Linked DNA regions of Homo sapiens: region 1 is linked to region 2. The links are contacts of gene promoters, found by promoter capture Hi-C in blood cells and fetal thymus (Javierre and others, 2016). All regions are on one chromosome and are shown on one strand. Each heading gives the region's core, a stretch centred on a gene start or on the middle of the fragment in contact. The rest is flanking DNA. Distances are from core to core; before and after follow the strand shown.

Region 1 (3,106 bases), core at 375-2,874, 910 kb after region 2:
AAATTTTATTTTTAAAAGTGTAAACCCAATAACTTTGAGAAGGAAGAAAAAAAGTCTTATGGAAAGACTATTTAGCTTCAGTGATTAAGAGCACGAGTTCTGATCCAGGCCTCCAGCTCTTACTGTGCGATCTCAGGGAAATGAGTTAACCTCTCCACACCTTAATCCTTCTAACTATGAAAGACAGAAAACAAGAATGCCTATCTCTGTAGGATTGTCATGAAGAATCAATGCAATAACTCATGGGCAGCACTTAGCACAGTATTCTGACACATAGTAAATGTTCAATAAGTGTTATATATTTATAAATTCTATCAACATTAACACTAATACTAATACCTAATATGTTTGCAAAGGGCTTTCATACACATTAGCCAATGCTAACCTCACAACAGTCTTATAAGGCAGGCAAAGCAGGGAAAGTGACCTCCACCTCACATCTGAAGACACTGAGGCTCAGGGAGGTGATGAAACCAATGCAAGGTCACGTAAACATTATCTGGCAGCACTCAGGTTAGAAACTTGGTAAGAGCCAGGAGGAAGTAGGACAGCATTGTTGGAAAGAGAAAACATAGCTGCAGAAGTTTAATGTTTATGTATCTGAAATTAACCATATACTAATAACCAAGATTTATTCACAGCTTACTATTTGCCAAACATTGTTCCAAGCACTTTGCATGTATTATCTCATCTGACCTTCACAAAAATCCTATGATACACCCCAGAAGCAAATTACTATCTCTGTTTTACATTTGAAAAATCCAAGGCACTGCAAGGGTAAGCAGGTTGCCTGAGGCACACAGCTATAAAGTGACAGAGGTGATACTGAGATTTGAATCCAGAGGTCATTTTTAACAACGACCCCCTAATACCCTAAAGCTTCCATGCAGAGACTGGTAAATCCTGAACTCTAAGGTGAAGCTTTCATCAACTGGGCATTGGACTAGATGACATCTAATATCCCTTCAACTCCTGAGATCTAGGACACAACACTTTTATTGTCTAAGAAAGAAATAAAATATTGTCTGAGTCTCTGAAAATGATACCTAAAGTGGACTTTGGAGAAACCAAGATGCTACCTCCTGCTTAAAATAGACATGAAGTAGTCATGAAAGTGTGTACTGATTTCAGTAAAGCATGTGACAAGAATATCGCGTACAATATTTTTACAGACAAAATACAGAAATGTCAGTAGGCTAAAGCACAGTTCAGAATACTTGAGAAAAGCTGAACGGTCAACGCACACTGACTAATACACTGATGATAAGCAGAAAGAGGGTCCCTGATTCTAAATATATTTTTTATCAATTACTCAAATGAAAGCATTAAGTATTTGCTTATAAATCTGCAGATGACATAGCACTTAGGGTGGGGAGCTCACTCATGAAACAGCAAAGTCCATAGACAGTGCGGTGTAGAAATCACTTAAACTTTGGATTCGGACCACTTGTTCAAGCTCACCGGTGGTGACCTTGGGCAAGTGATTTAATCTTCTTTAGCTTCAGCTTCCCCATATTTAAAATGTGGATAATACACTTGTTTGAAGTAGAGCCTGAAATTTGGTAGATGCTCAATGAATGTTAGTTCTTTGTTCTCAGTTGAAAAGGATCTCTGCAGGATAAACATTGGAGCAAAAGCAAGGAGATAAAATATACTTGATATAAACATAGAGTCCTGAATCTAGATTCAAAAATTAAACTGAATGAGAACAGAGTGAGAGAAAACTAACTCTGTCATCAATTCATATAAAAAAAAAGATTCAGAGATTTTAGCTGACTATCTCAAGTCAGAAACGGAATGCCACTTCTTTAAAAAAAAAAAAAAACACCACTTTAAAAAGTATTTTAATTCAAACTAATGTGTTAAATGCTGATGTTAATAAGCATTGCCTTATTATCTGGTAATTAGATAACGTCCCCCCTCCCTTGCAGGGATTTTAAACCAATACTAAAATTATGTGGTATGTGATACAACAAAGTAATAAATAAAGTGCCCTATGAGAGCCCAAAGGAGGAAGCTGGTCTTATTCGGCCAAGAGAAATCAAGGAAGGCTTCACAGAGGAAGTGACCTCTGAGTACAATCTTAAAGCCAGACTCATTCTAGGTGGAAAAGCAGCAAGTGCAAAGGCACGGAGGCCTGGAAGAGGATGGTGCCTTCAGGGATCAGCAGCCACTGAAGCAGCTGGAGAGACAGTGATTACAGTGGTCAAGGAAAGCTGGCGCAATGTGCAGAGTGGCTCATGAGAAGCCCTGCATACCAAGCCAAGGAGACCCTGCCCAGTTACAAGGCTAACAAATGACAGAACCAAAGGGGAGCTTAAGCTTTCTGACTCATCATGTATTCCCTCTGCTTGTGCCATCCTGTACAGTAGCCACTAGCCATATGTGGCTATTTAAACTTAACTAAAATTAAGTCAGTAAAATTTAAAATTTAGTTCTCAGTCGCATTAGCCACATATCAAGTCCTTAAGGGCCACATGTGCCAAGAGCCATGTCTATCATCACCAAAAATCCACCAACTGTGCTGTTCAATGCCATAGTATTGTCAAGTGAAAGGAAGTAGACTGAGTCTATATTGTTTTACAAAACAGAAAACAGGAAGGGAAAGAACAAATGGAAGCTATAAGGAGGAATATTTCCACTTCCTATATCTTAAGTTTTTTAACAACAGAAGAGCACCCTGTCACTGGAGGTATTCCAGCTTGACAGTCGTCTTTCACAGTGATGTAGAAAGAGTTTCTGTATTGAATTCATGCCCTTTGGTTAGAATGTTTGTGTTCTTTCATAGCAGCCTGGCTGACAGCCCAGTGCAACCGTATCTCTCTAGTTCCTTCATATAAAGTTCCTGTCGTACTTGCTCATAAAGGCTTTGATATTTGGTTGAGAATCACTACTCCTGATAGCCCAGCATCCCAACATCCCAAATTGTGGGAATTTTTTAACATGATAGATGTTTTTAAATTGTGATTCATAGACCTCTAAAATTGAATGCAAAATTGTATGTGTATTTTTCAGGAGAGACAGGTCTATAGCATCAACCAGATGTCAGTAGGATTTGTGATCCCAGTATAGAAAGCAAATGAACAAACACTGTACTAGAGGGACT
Region 2 (2,882 bases), core at 225-2,724:
TTTTAAAAAATAAAAAATAATGAATAAATAAATAAATGGGGCCAGGTACGGTGGCTCACGCCTGTAATCCCAGTACTTTGGGAGGCTGAGGTGGGTGGATCACTTGAGCCCAGGAGTTTGAGACCCAGCATGGACAATGTAGTGAGACCTCATCTCTACAAAAAATAGCTGGATGTGGTGGCTCATGTCTGTTGTCCCAGCTACTCAGCAGCTGAGGCAGGAGGATTGATTGAGCTCAGGAGGTTGAGGCTGCAGTGAGCCGTCATCAAGCCACTGCACTGCAACCTGGGCAACAAAGCGAGACACTGTCTAAAAATAAAAATAAAAATAGAAATAAAAATAAATAAATGAAGACTCTTGCCTTGGATGCAACCCCTCATATGCAGCTGGCTGCTACCTAGTGCTTAGAACTCTTTCTGCCTATATGTGTTAGACACATAGTAAATGATAATTAAAGAGAGAATAAAGTTGAGGACCTAATTCACATTAAAATATAAGCAGTTTGTTGGATCTACTTATCTCAACATATCTGCATTTTAATAAAAAATTATACCTTAACATTCCAAAATTGATCTCAAAAGGTGACATTTTACATTCATCTACTGTTCTTTGGAAAGATAATTTGGGGCAATTGAGCTGCTTTCTTTGTGATCCCCAAAAACTGTTACAGAAGAATGAAGAGGACAAGAGCTCAGTATCTATATATATGAGCACACATCCAAACGTTTATAAACTTTTATGTCTAGGAAGAATGTATTTGCTCTCAGTATATGACCCAACATATGAGTAAGGAGTCTTTTTTTTTTTTGAGACAGTCTCGCTCTGTCACCCAGGCTGGAGTGTAGTGAGATGATCCTGGCCCACTGCAACATCCGCCTCCCGGGTTCAAGTAATTCTCCTGCCTCAGCCTTCCAAGTGGCTGGGATTACAGGCACTCTTTACCATGCCCAGCTAGTTTTTGTATTTTTAGTGGAGATGGGATTTCACCATGTTGGCCAGGCTGATCTCGAACTCCTGACCTCGAGATCTGCCTTGGCCTCCCAAAGTGCTGGGATTACAGGCTTGAGCCACCATGCCTGTCCGAGTAAGGAGTCTTAAAGGATGCATTAAGGTTTGTGAGTAACCCGGGTCTTCTCTGGATAATCTCCGTGCTCAGGCACCTCTCTTTTTCTACTCCGAGCATTGAACAGGGGCAGAAGGAAGCAAGCCATGAGAGAGAGGGACAAGTGTAACCAGAAGGTCCTCAAGGGTCCAAAAGCAGAGCTCCTGAGAGCACAAATTCCCACAGGTGCATACTAAAAAATATTTATGTTTCTACTTTGGCAGAACTCAATTAGTTCCCAGTGTACTGGAATGAAATGGAACAATGAGACCCACCTCACTAAAAACCTAGGCTCCTGTCCAGAACTTTCCAGTCTGTGAGAGAGCAGTGGGCAGAAGGAGATGATAAAAGTAGGTAGAACTTAGCTCTGTATATATAGGCCCAGAACTCGAGAGGCCTGTGAGGGAGAGGAGAGCAGAGAGGTCCTGAGTATTGCTCTTCACGCTTCAGTCGGACAGGCCTGTATTCCATGGGAAAGTCCATTGGCCATTTTTAACTGGGGCTATTTCTTTTCTCTTATGGACTATATCAGGCCACAGTGGTCTCCAAGGGCATGATACTCAAAGGTTGTCTCCTGTATCCTTTGTGCTCTCCCAGGAATAAGCAAAGATGTGCCAGGCTGTGGAAAATAGCCTATGGAGGATTACTAAAGATAGTGACTGGCTCCCTCTTAACATTTTATGTGGTTCTCTGTCTTGATGGCGGGATGGTGCTCATGAGGAAGCAAGTGCCATCAAGGTTCATGTACCCCAAAGAGTGGCAGCACCTCACCATGTTCATCCTCCTCACTCTTAATGGCTGTGTGGACTTCATGAGCAAGAATGTGCTGCCTCAGAGGTGTGTGGGCCTAGAAAAAGGTACCCTGGTCCTGATCATCTACGAGCTCCTGCTGCTGATGGTGTCACATGTTAAAGATTCAGAAGGGGTGGAGCTGCACGTTTATTCTCTGCTCATCTTGGTGGTGTTCCTGCTGTTGCTGGTGTTGACTGCAGAGCTGTGGGCTCCCAACATGTGTCATCTCCAGCTGATGGAGACCTTTCTGATTCTGATGATGGGCTCCTGGCTGATGCAGGCAGGCTTTATTCTATACAGACCCGTCTCTGGCTACCCATGGCAGGACGATGACATCAGTGACATCATGTTTGTCACCACCTTCTTCTGCTGGCATGTGATGATCAATGCCTCATTCCTGTTGGGAATCTATGGCTTCTCTTCCTTTTGGTATCATTGTTTCAGACCCAGCTTGAAGCTGACTGGGCCCAAAGAAGCTCCATATTATGCAAGCACTCCAGGACCCCTCTACAAGTTGCTACAGGAAGTGGAGCAGTCAGAGAAAGAGGACCAGGCTCTCCTCCTTCCAAAGAGCTCCCCCTGAGACAGGGCCTACAGTGGCTGGCACATCGTCCACCTCATCTTCCTCCTGTTGGCTCCTCAGCCACGAGCATGGTACCCTCCTTGGTAAAGGTAATGGCCTTGAAGGCTAGCAGTTGGTCCCGTCTGCTGGTTCATTTTCTTTTCTTCTCTTTTCTTTTTTTTTTTTTTTGAGACAGAGTCTCGCTCTGTTGCCCAGCCTGGAGTGCAATGGCACAATCTCAGCTCAGTGCAACCTCCGCCTCCCGAGTTCAAGCGATTCTCCTGCCTCAGCCTCCCGAGTAGCTGCAATTACAGGAGCCTGCCACCATGCCCGTGCTGGTGCATTTTCTGTCCCTGAGCCTCTAATTACTGAGAAGATAAGGGGAGAGGGATTGAGAAAGAGACGCTGATGGGATTTGCGGGAGGG

Evidence for each region. Contacts are between HindIII fragments. The CHiCAGO score rates a contact against its expected background, and 5 or more counts as called.
Region 1: a fragment that was not itself captured here is called in contact with the fragment with the promoter of TEDDM1 in region 2 in 1 of 17 cell types (naive CD8 T cells); the score reaches 5.2 in naive CD8 T cells.

The regions. Positions count from the first base shown.
Region 1 is chr1:181,493,036-181,496,141 of GRCh38, reverse strand. The region is part of intron 1 of CACNA1E (calcium voltage-gated channel subunit alpha1 E); the gene reads right to left. Among named protein-coding and RNA genes, the nearest start is that of CACNA1E, 11 kb to the right of the region's middle. The HindIII fragment of the contact is 1,401 bases long and covers 924-2,324 here.
Region 2 is chr1:182,399,259-182,402,140 of GRCh38, reverse strand. TEDDM1 (transmembrane epididymal protein 1) reads left to right here and starts at 1,474. Exons shown (of 1, transcript NM_172000.4): 1 at 1,474-2,882. The coding sequence starts at 1,656. The coding sequence ends at 2,477. The HindIII fragment of the contact is 8,350 bases long and covers 1-2,882 here.